3 separate regions of the Homo sapiens genome follow, and all the other regions are linked to region 3. The links are contacts of gene promoters, found by promoter capture Hi-C in human tissues and cell types (Jung and others, 2019). All regions are on one chromosome and are shown on one strand. The core of a region is centred on a gene start or on the middle of the fragment in contact, and the rest is flanking DNA. Distances in the headings are between cores, read along the strand shown.

Region 1 (3,256 bases), core at 617-3,116, 120 kb after region 3:
CCTTAAAATTCAATGGAAATTGCCTCTTTTAATAATCAGCTGCTTAGTGCTGTTTTAATAACTAACTAGATTCTCAACATTATTTACTTCGCCTCGAAAACTTCCAGACCCTTAGTTGATTATCCTAAGCCACATATTTCTCCATCACAGCTCAAACACCCAAACTAACCCTTGAAAAAGCTCTACATTCTGATTCTTTAAGTTTTCAAATGAATGTATGATTTCTACTCAGCATCTTTATAACCCTTAATCCTATGGAAGTCCTAATTCCCTAGACTGGGTTCCTAGGGTTCCACACAACCTCAATCTTAACTCAATGTCAGTCACATTCTACAAACTTGACACAATTCTCTTCTCATTTGGTGAAGACCAACTTAAGAAAATGTTTCATCTTCTATCCTCTTGAAAAAAAATGAAATATTTAAAAATTATTTATTGAGAGGTCACATTAAATTACTATGAATAGAATTAGGTTTTAATGTGTTAAGTTTTCTTACTTTTAAAAGGATATCTGCAAGGGCAGCAATGAAGCATGAAAAAATGACATAAAGAAAAAAAAAGCAGCCTGGAATTCAAGGACCTGGATTCCATTCCCAGTTGTGGCACCAAGTAGTTGTGTGTCCTTGAGCAACATATGTATTTCTGAGTCTCCAACACATGTTAATTGAAGAGACTAGATTAAATAATGTGTAAGGCCAATTCACGATTAAATGGTCTATGATTATAGAAAAATTTGCATAAAATGAAGAAATCCTGGAATAACTAGGTGAAGCAGAGACAGGGAGAATATGTCTGCACTTAACACTCATCCAAATGTAAAGATTTAAAATTCTTTTTCTGTACAAGACAGGAAAAAAATGGAACTTGAATCTCACTGAAAACACACACTAATAAGCAAAGCATTGTATCTCCTTCCTCCAATACTAATCCTTTCTTAAGAAAAGATTTTTCTGCCCAAAGTTCTCCTCAGGGCAACTTTGACATCCTTGTTCCTCAAGCTATAGATTAATGGGTTTAACACGGGGACTATTATGGTATAGAACAGGGAGGACACTTTCCCTTGCTCGAGGGGCAGGATGGAAAGGGGTTTGAGATACATGAAAGCACCAGAACCAAAGAAAAGAGAAACTACAATTATGTGGGAACTGCAAGTACTAAAGGCTTTGGACCTGCCTTCTGTAGAACTGTTGTGTAGAATGCTGGAGAGGATGAGGGCATAAGAAATAAAGACAGTGACAATGGGCATTCCAACGTCAACAGCCACCACAATAAAGACCACCAGCTCATTCATGTAAGAGCTGTTGCAGGAGAGCTCAAGGAGAGGAAGGATGTCACACATGAAATGATTGACAAGGTTGTCAGCACAGAAGGTCAGGTTCATTATGCTTCCTGTGTGGGCCATGGCCCCAGCAAACCCCATCCCATAGGCACCCAACAAAAGGAGCAAACACACCTGGCAAGACATGGTGACTGTGTACAACAGTGGGTTACAGATGGCCACGTAGCGGTCATACGCCATCGCTGACAGGATGAAGGACTCAGAGACGACAAAGAAGCAGAAGAAGAAGAGCTGAGTCATACACCCTGTGAAGGAAATGATGTTCTTCCTTGAGACAAAACTCATCAGCATTTTGGGAGTGATGGTAGTGGAGAAACAGAAATCTATTAAAGAGAGGTTAAAAAGGAAGAAGTACATGGGAGTGTGCAGGTGAGAGTTCAGCCCAATCAGGGTTATCAAGCCCAGGTTCCCCACCACGGTGACCGTGTAGAAACCCAGAAACAGGAAGAAGAGGGGGATCCGCAGTCCCGGCTGGTGGGTTAAGCCTTCGAGGATAAACTCTGTCACAGAAGAGTTTTTGGCTGCCATTCTTTTTGGTCAGGCAGGAGAGTCGGAGGGGACAAGAGAAGAGGACCACTTAGAAAGAAACATCACCACCACATTCTTAGTCTCTATCTCCCATTCTTAGAAAAGGAATCCAAGGAGAGAGATTTGAACTTTGGTAGGAAGGTTTTTACCACTCACTGTGGGTCTATCTTCACAGTCCGAGTGATTATAACTCCCAAAGTGTAATATGAGACTCAACTGTAACTGCAGAATGAGAGCTGGATCTGCTGAAGAAAGGGGTACCAAAAATAATCCAAATGTCTTTTAGATCCTTAGGTCAGTCCCTTTTCTATATCTTTCCCTCTCCTGTCTCTGCTTCACTTGGTAAAACCTGGACCTCTTCCCTGAAGGGAATCCTGAGATGCAGAAGCCACAGTGGCTCTGCTCAGAGCTTCCACCTCTGGGTCCACACTGTCAGATTAAGTAGGTGAGCTCATGCTTTTCCAAGATCTCTTAGCTCAAGTGGCTGTACATTTAATAATTTTTTAAAGCTGACACTTATTGAGTGGTTACTATAAGAGGTTCTGTTTGAAGAGCCATGTAGCAATATTATTATCTTCATTTTACAGATGAAACAAGTAAGATGACATAACTAGACAAAAGTCCCCAAACCACCTGCAGCCAGAAGGTGAATTTCGGCAGTATGGCTCAAATGGCTTGCACTTGAAATCACCATGTTACATAAGTGACCAGCATCGGGGCAGGCACTCACCTTCCTTCCCTTTAGAGCCATAAATGCTATACTCTACTGCCTCTTTTTCACATTCTGGGGAGGAAGATGACCCTAGTGAAGACAAGATGACAGATCTGAGCTCAAAGCCCTCTCTTCCCAGTACAGGTCAAAGGATCAGAACCTCTAATGTATCTCATAACACTTCCTGCACTGAAGGACATGACTTCCAATTGTTCATTTGCCCAAAGGCCTCTCCAGCTTCCAGGAAGGAGACAAAGCTTTTTCCTGACCAGTGAATAACAAAAGACTAAAGAGTTTTATTCTGGATTACAGACCTCAATGATCTGGCCATTAAGATAGAGACTCCCTCAAGACCACTTGCTTAGCAATTAGTTTCCCTAGAGAAGAAGAAATGTTTGTTTATCTCTTGGAATTGCTTGATTTGGCTTTCTACTAACATGTATCCTGTACTATTAAGAGAAAATCATTGTGAAAAAAATGATTGTCATTACCATTTCTTGAATACCCAATAATTTAGTACCTGACATAGTACCCTTATTCCAGCTGCCAAGATCCAGAGTACACATATACAAACATATCTTTATTTATTTCTCACAATACCTATTTTACAGGTAAGTTGCTCACAGAGACAAGATGTTTCAGAGTCCACAGGTATGCTTAGGTCTGTCTGACTCCAA
Region 2 (3,037 bases), core at 354-2,853, 86 kb after region 3:
TCTCACTGGGATTCTCTGCATTTCCTGAATTTGAATGTTGCCCTCTCTAGAGACAGATTGGGGAGAGAGCTAGATTGGGGAAGATCTCATGAATGATATCCTGAAATATGTTTTCCAGGTTGGTTCCATTCTCTGCATCTCTTTCGGAGTCCCCAAGGAATCATAGATTTGATCTCTTTACATAATCTCATATTTCTCAGAGTTTTAGTCATTTTTTTTCATTCTTTTTGCTCTGTTCTTGTCTAACCATCTTATTTCAGAAAGCTGGGCTTCAAGCTCTGAGATTTTTTCCTCCACTTGGTCTATTCTGCTATTAATACTTATGATTGATTGCATTATGAAATTCTTGTAGTGTGTTTTTCAGCTCTATCAGGTCAGTTATGTGCTTTTCTATACTGGTTATTTTGTCTGTCAGCTCCTGCATTGTTTTGTCATGATTTTTAGCTTCCTTGGATTGGGTTTCAATGTACTCCTGTAGCACAATGACCTTCATTCCTATCCATATTCTGAATTCTATTTCTGTCATTTCAAGCATCTCAGCCCAGTTCAGACCGCTTGCCGGATAGGTGATGTGGTTGCTTGGAGGAAAGAAGGCATTCTGGCTTTTTGAGTTGTCAGGGTTCTTGCACTGATTCATTTTCATCTTTGTGGGCTTATCTACCTTCAGTCTTTGATGTTGCTGACTTTGGATGGATTTTTTTTTCCTTTTATCGTATTTGATGACCTTGAGGGTTTGATTGTGGTATAAGGTGGATTCAGCTGACTGGTTTTGTATCTGAAAGATTTTAGGGGGCCAACATGCAGCTCCCAACTCCTGGACTGTGTGCTCTAACTCTGGGGGACTTGTATTGTGCCCCAACTTTGTTTTCTGGCTCCTTATGGTTAGTAATCCACTGCACTGGTGGGGGATGAGGTGTTACTGGACTGCTGGTCACTACACTCTGATGGGTGGTGTCAGCCAAAGCATTTCATAGTGCAGTGACAGTGTGATCTGTCCTTGTTCACACATGCCAGCAGCAGAGGTAACGGCAGGTGCAGCAGGGTGCTAGTGGGTGCCGGGATGCCTGCCTCCCTGCAGGTGTTTACCACAGTGGCAGAGGCAACATAGCTGGGGGACGTGGGGGGCGGGCCTTGCTGGCAACTGTGTGCACTGTCACACTGGAAGTGGTGTTGGTTCAGGGGTGGGGCACTTGTAGGCACAAGTCTGGGTGCTTCCTCTGTGCCCCACAAGCAGGAGTGATCACTTAGGGCAAGGGAGGATCCACTGTTAGCACAATGGTGGGGCACTGGCGGGAATAGAGCTGGCTGGGTCTTTGCTTCCAAGGCTCTGTCTGCAATGGCAGTCAGGGGACGGCAGGGCAGACTGCATTCCTGCACACCGGCAAGGCAAGGAAAGCAAAACCTGCCCACGCAGGCACTCACCAGCAAAGCAAGGTTGGGGGTTGCCATGGGCCTGAAGGAAGCTACCATATGAGGAGAGAGGGAGCATGTGGGCTGGTGTGTGGCCATAGAGGCTGCCCTTTGGGAGCTCTCTACCAGTCAGGCACAATCTGCCAGTGCAGAAGCTATGATGCAGCCCCCATGGCACCTGAGACTGCCTTGCAGGCAGGCACAGCCAGGCTGAGGACCCAGGAGAGGCCAGCAGCCCAAGGGTTGCTCAGGTCAAACCAGCCCTGTCTGATGGGCAAGACTGCCCTGCAGAGTTGAGGTCTGACTGTCCTTCTTGGGCTAAAGTCTCCTATGGGAGTAAGTTGAGCCTAGGGGAATGGCTGTCCCTGCCCATGCTCTGCTACGGATACTTCCACACCAAACCCTCTGGGCTCATAATCAGGCTTGCTGCCCAAACCACTTCTTTAAGCAGCCCTCCTTGCCAACTAGAATGTCCGTGGTGGCCGAAGGGTCTCCTCCTACTGGGGTTCCAGAGCCCCGTGGTGAGAGCAGGTTGTTCCTTGCCAGTTCAACTCACTCATTCCCCTAGAGCTGTTGGGGGCCAGGAATGAGTCCTCGTGCATGGCAGCTCCATGCACATTCCCAGCTTTCTTCCCCTTCACCCCAGCTTCTGTGTCTTCCCTCCATCCACCCTCAGTGCCTTCCCTCTGAAGATCTGTTAGGAGCACGCCAGTCATTTCAGTCCCTCAGTAAAAGGTGCTCCACCTGGCTGCGTCTAGTCAGCCGTCTTGCCCTCCTCTTGTTTCCATTCATGTTTTTAAAATATTCATTAAATCAAGGAATGATGGATACCTCTTTAAGATGGCAAAATATATAAATTTCAGCCCAAAGCCAGCAACTTACTTTGGAAACACTAGCATCAAAACCAGGATGCTTACAGCCTTCACTGTAAGCAATTATTTAACACTGTATTAAAGTTATTAGAAAATGCAGGTGTAAATGGGAAAGAAATAAGAGGCATAAGTGTCAGGAGGAAAAAATTACAGCTATCTCTATACAGATAAAATTTATTATGTATTTGGAAAGCCTGAGAGAATCTATAGAAAAATCTCTACAAATAATAACAGTTACATTACAAAGTAGATAATTAACAGAGTAATACATCGAATGCATATGTATAAGTAATAATAATATCTAATGAAAGATAAGACAAAATAAAACAAAATTCCCAAGCACAATTATAATAAGAAATATGCAAAACATAGATAAGGAATTATGAAACACTCTTAAAAGATACTAAAGTAGACCCCCAAGACATGGAAAGGCATATCACAGTTTATGATTGGAAGCCTCAAGATCCAAAGATTTTGATTCTCCTTAAATTTACTTCTAAATTTAAGATGCAATCTTAAATGCATCTGTGCAGCAAATATGCCATCAGGTTTTTTTCTGGAGCTAGACAGATTAATTATAAAGATTATGGTTAAACATGAATAGTCAGCAAAACCCTAAAAAAGAGGAACAATATGTGGGAGGTTACCCTCAAGATATGAAAACATAATGAAGCTTCTACAGTTAAAGTAGTGTGATATTGGCTTATGGGTAGACAGATACATAGACCAATGGAACAGAATGGAAAAACACAGAA
Region 3 (3,216 bases), core at 643-3,142:
TCCAGACTCCCTGAGAGTGGGACGTGTAATATGACTCCTCTTTCTTTCCGATTCTATATTGATTAACTGTAATACACATACAGACACACACACACACACACACACACACATATAAACATGCACACACGTTGTCAGAACTGTAAAATCTAAATCCACTTTAAAGAATAAGCAATCTTCCTAAAATCCAGTAGTGTGCTTAGTATCTCCAGAGCAAGGCAGAGGCCACATTTTACAGATCATGCAAATCCGTGGAGTTCTTCCTTGTTTCTTCTTCCAGCCTGAGTCTCCGGAGCCTAAGAAATTGGCCCAATTACACAGGATCACTTACCCCTGATTACCATTCCAAGGCCCAGAAGCTTTAGAACTTTGAAATAAAAGATTTGGATTTGATTTATCCTTACAGAGCAGATCATAGAAAATTCTTGTGTGAGGGCTTCTTTTATGTACATACATGTATATGAAAAGGAGGGTTTATGATCTTCCTGACCAAGCAACCTCCTGAAGAGCTGGATATATAATCATATTAGCACTGGCACCAAGGTATCTACCATTGATCTTTAATAAGTCTGCTTATGTAACTAAAGAGAAAACACTCCTCAACCTTTATACCACCACCTGCCCCTTGTTCCAGCCAGAAACGTTCTTGCTCAGAAAAACCCATTTAGCCTACCAAGAAAAGAATGGAAGGCATGGAGCCTCATCTTACTCATCTCTTGGGCCTAATACAGAGTTCAGTAAACAAAAGGCATTTCATAGACACTAACTTGCAGGCAGTGAGCCAATTTAATTGTTGCAAAATAATATAGTCCTCAAGGAGAGTATAGGAAAGAGATTTCCAATTTTTAAAAGTGGAGAGGAGACCCTCTTTGAGGAAAAATATTAAAATTCCTCCGCCTATAAATAGAAAGACACTTGAGTATCATGCTTACCGAGAATCGGTTGCCAGTGATATGAAGAGACCCATTAGAAGAGCACTCTCTTCAGGGTTTTGCCCAGGGCAAGTTTATCATCCTTATTCCTCAAACTGTAGATCGAAGGGTTAAGCATGGGAACCACATTGGTGTAAAAGACTGAGGCAAATCTGCCATGGTTCATAGAGCCAGGAAAAGATGTTGTTAAGTAGGTGAATGTCCCTGACCCAAAAAACAGAGCAACAGCAATTATGTGGGAGCCCCATGTGCTAAAGGCTTTGGATCTGCCCTCTGCAGAAGGAATACAGAGGATGTTGGAGAGTATCAAAGCGTAAGAGATGACGATGCTTATGCTGGATAGCATGGTGATTACTCCAACAACAATGAAAAATACCAGCTCACTGACATGGGTGCTGGTGCAGGAGAGCTGCAAGAGGGGGAGAACGTCACACAGATAATGGTCAATGACGTTGGAATCACAGAAGGTCAGTCGCAGCATGCTTCCAGTGTGGGCCATGGCCCCAGCAAACCCTACCACATAGGAACCAAACATCAGCAGAAAGCAGACCCTTGGGGACATGGTGACCATGTAGAGCAGGGGGTTGCAGATGGCCACATAGCGATCATAGGCCATTGATACCAACACATAGCACTCAGAATTGACAAAGAAACAGAAGAAAAATAGCTGAGTCATACATCCCACATAAGAGATGATACTTTCTGAAACAAAGTCATTCAGCATTTTGGGGGTAAACACACAGGAATAACAGAGATCTATAAAGGACAAGTTGAAGAGGAAAAAGTACATGGGGGTGTGAAGGCTAGGATTTATCCCAATTAAGGTGATCAAGCCCAAGTTGCCCACCACAGTGAACACATAGATCCCTAAGAATAGAAGGAAAAGAGGGAGCTGGAGCTCTGGCTGTTCTGATAATCCCACAAGGATAAACTCAGTCACTGAGGAGCTGTTTCTCAGAGTCATTCTCTCTTGGCGAGCTGTCTGGGGAAGCAGAGGGCAAAACACAAAGAGTCATGACAGGCACAAGCATGGCTAAGGGAAGAAGACTCTAGTGGACCAGCCAGTGTGCAGATGCCCTCTCTTCCATCCTCCCTCATCTACACACCTCCCCACCCTGAGGTATTAACAACGTGTCTGTGAGAGGATCTCAGCTCTGCTGGGCCGATCATGAATTCAAGCTAGCATCTGTTACCATGGGCAGCAAGAATTCCGTCTCTGCTTGAGAGATGACGAGGGAGACAACACACCTGAATTGGCTGCCCAGGGACTCTCAGAAAGACACCCTGAGAACCAAGAGTACAACCTGGGCCGCTGCCTCAAGAGCTGAGAGACCAGAGCTCTCAAGGTCACCAGGATGCCCTCCCATTCTCTGCCTCCGTCTCCCAACTAGATAGTGGATTTCCATCTGGAGAGAAAGCCAAGAGTGTTACCTGCTGGCTCTTTACATCCCACCCGCCTCCTCGAAGACCCTCCATTCCATCTCACCTCAGGGTCAGTGTTGAGAGCAGAGACGGGATCCATACTTCCCAGAGCCCTTGGTTGTGGGTTTCAAAGAGACCATCAGGAAAGACAGGATTCGGACCTTCACCTTCCTTCTCCCGGGCCCCACTCAGTGCTGGGCCTTACGCCATCTCTTTTTCCATTAGCCAGAAAGAGAAAATGGTGCTGCTTGTGCAGAAAGCACACAGCCTTGCGTATTACCTCTTTTGACTCCCTTGGTGCTGAGAATCAGAGCTTTTACAGACCCCAGGCTCCAAGGTGCTCAAGGAATAGACCATGGTTTCTGTTTGTGGATTTTCCCAGGTGGTCTTGACAACTTCAGGAAAAAAAACTAGGAACTCTCATTTTGACCAGAACCCCAGCTGTCATATCACAGAGGAATTTAAGCTGCTTGACGATCTCAGGGACCTGATTAGACACAGTTTCCCCTGGGAATTTCTCCAAGATCTGTCTCTATAGGGAAGGAATTGCACTGTCTTTGTTTACAGCCTGGATAACGGTGCTTACCTAGCATCTTGGGAGTGGGGGTTCCACTCAAACTTTCCCTCTACTCCAGGGATTTCATGTTATTCAGTGCTGAGTTTGGGGACTCATTTTTTCCTTTCTCATTAACTCTCAGAGCCTAAGCTTGAATTTAAGAGTGAATAGCCCCAACCTAAGCCACCATCTCCAAATCTTCACAGGGAGCTATGAGAGTAGGACCCCTCAGAAAAGGTCAGATCAGATCTACAGAGAGCACCTCAGATAAAAGGCTTCTTGGACCATGCGCTGCTCAGAACAGAAACC

The links. The method cuts DNA at HindIII sites, captures the fragments that hold promoters and counts their contacts. A contact is called where the count stands out against the background at its distance.
Region 1: the fragment with the promoter of OR8B12 here is called in contact with the fragment with the promoter of OR8B4 in region 3 in 3 of the 25 tissues and cell types used here (heart left ventricle, neural progenitor cells and ovary).
Region 2: a contact is called between a fragment that was not itself captured here and the fragment with the promoter of OR8B4 in region 3, in 2 of the 25 tissues and cell types used here (dorsolateral prefrontal cortex and mesendoderm cells).

The regions. Positions count from the first base shown.
Region 1 is chr11:124,541,788-124,545,043 of GRCh38, forward strand. It overlaps OR8B12 (olfactory receptor family 8 subfamily B member 12), which reads right to left and starts at 1,867. Exons shown (of 1, transcript NM_001005195.1): 1 at 935-1,867. The coding sequence starts at 1,867. The coding sequence ends at 935. The HindIII fragment of the contact is 12,708 bases long and covers 1-3,256 here.
Region 2 is chr11:124,509,055-124,512,091 of GRCh38, forward strand. No RefSeq gene overlaps it. Among named protein-coding and RNA genes, the nearest start is that of OR8B12, 33 kb to the right of the region's middle. RefSeq lists enhancers at 887-1,521, 1,522-2,155. The HindIII fragment of the contact is 4,409 bases long and covers 1-3,037 here.
Region 3 is chr11:124,422,979-124,426,194 of GRCh38, forward strand. OR8B4 (olfactory receptor family 8 subfamily B member 4) reads right to left here and starts at 1,893. Exons shown (of 1, transcript NM_001005196.1): 1 at 964-1,893. The coding sequence starts at 1,893. The coding sequence ends at 964. The HindIII fragment of the contact is 10,487 bases long and covers 1-3,216 here.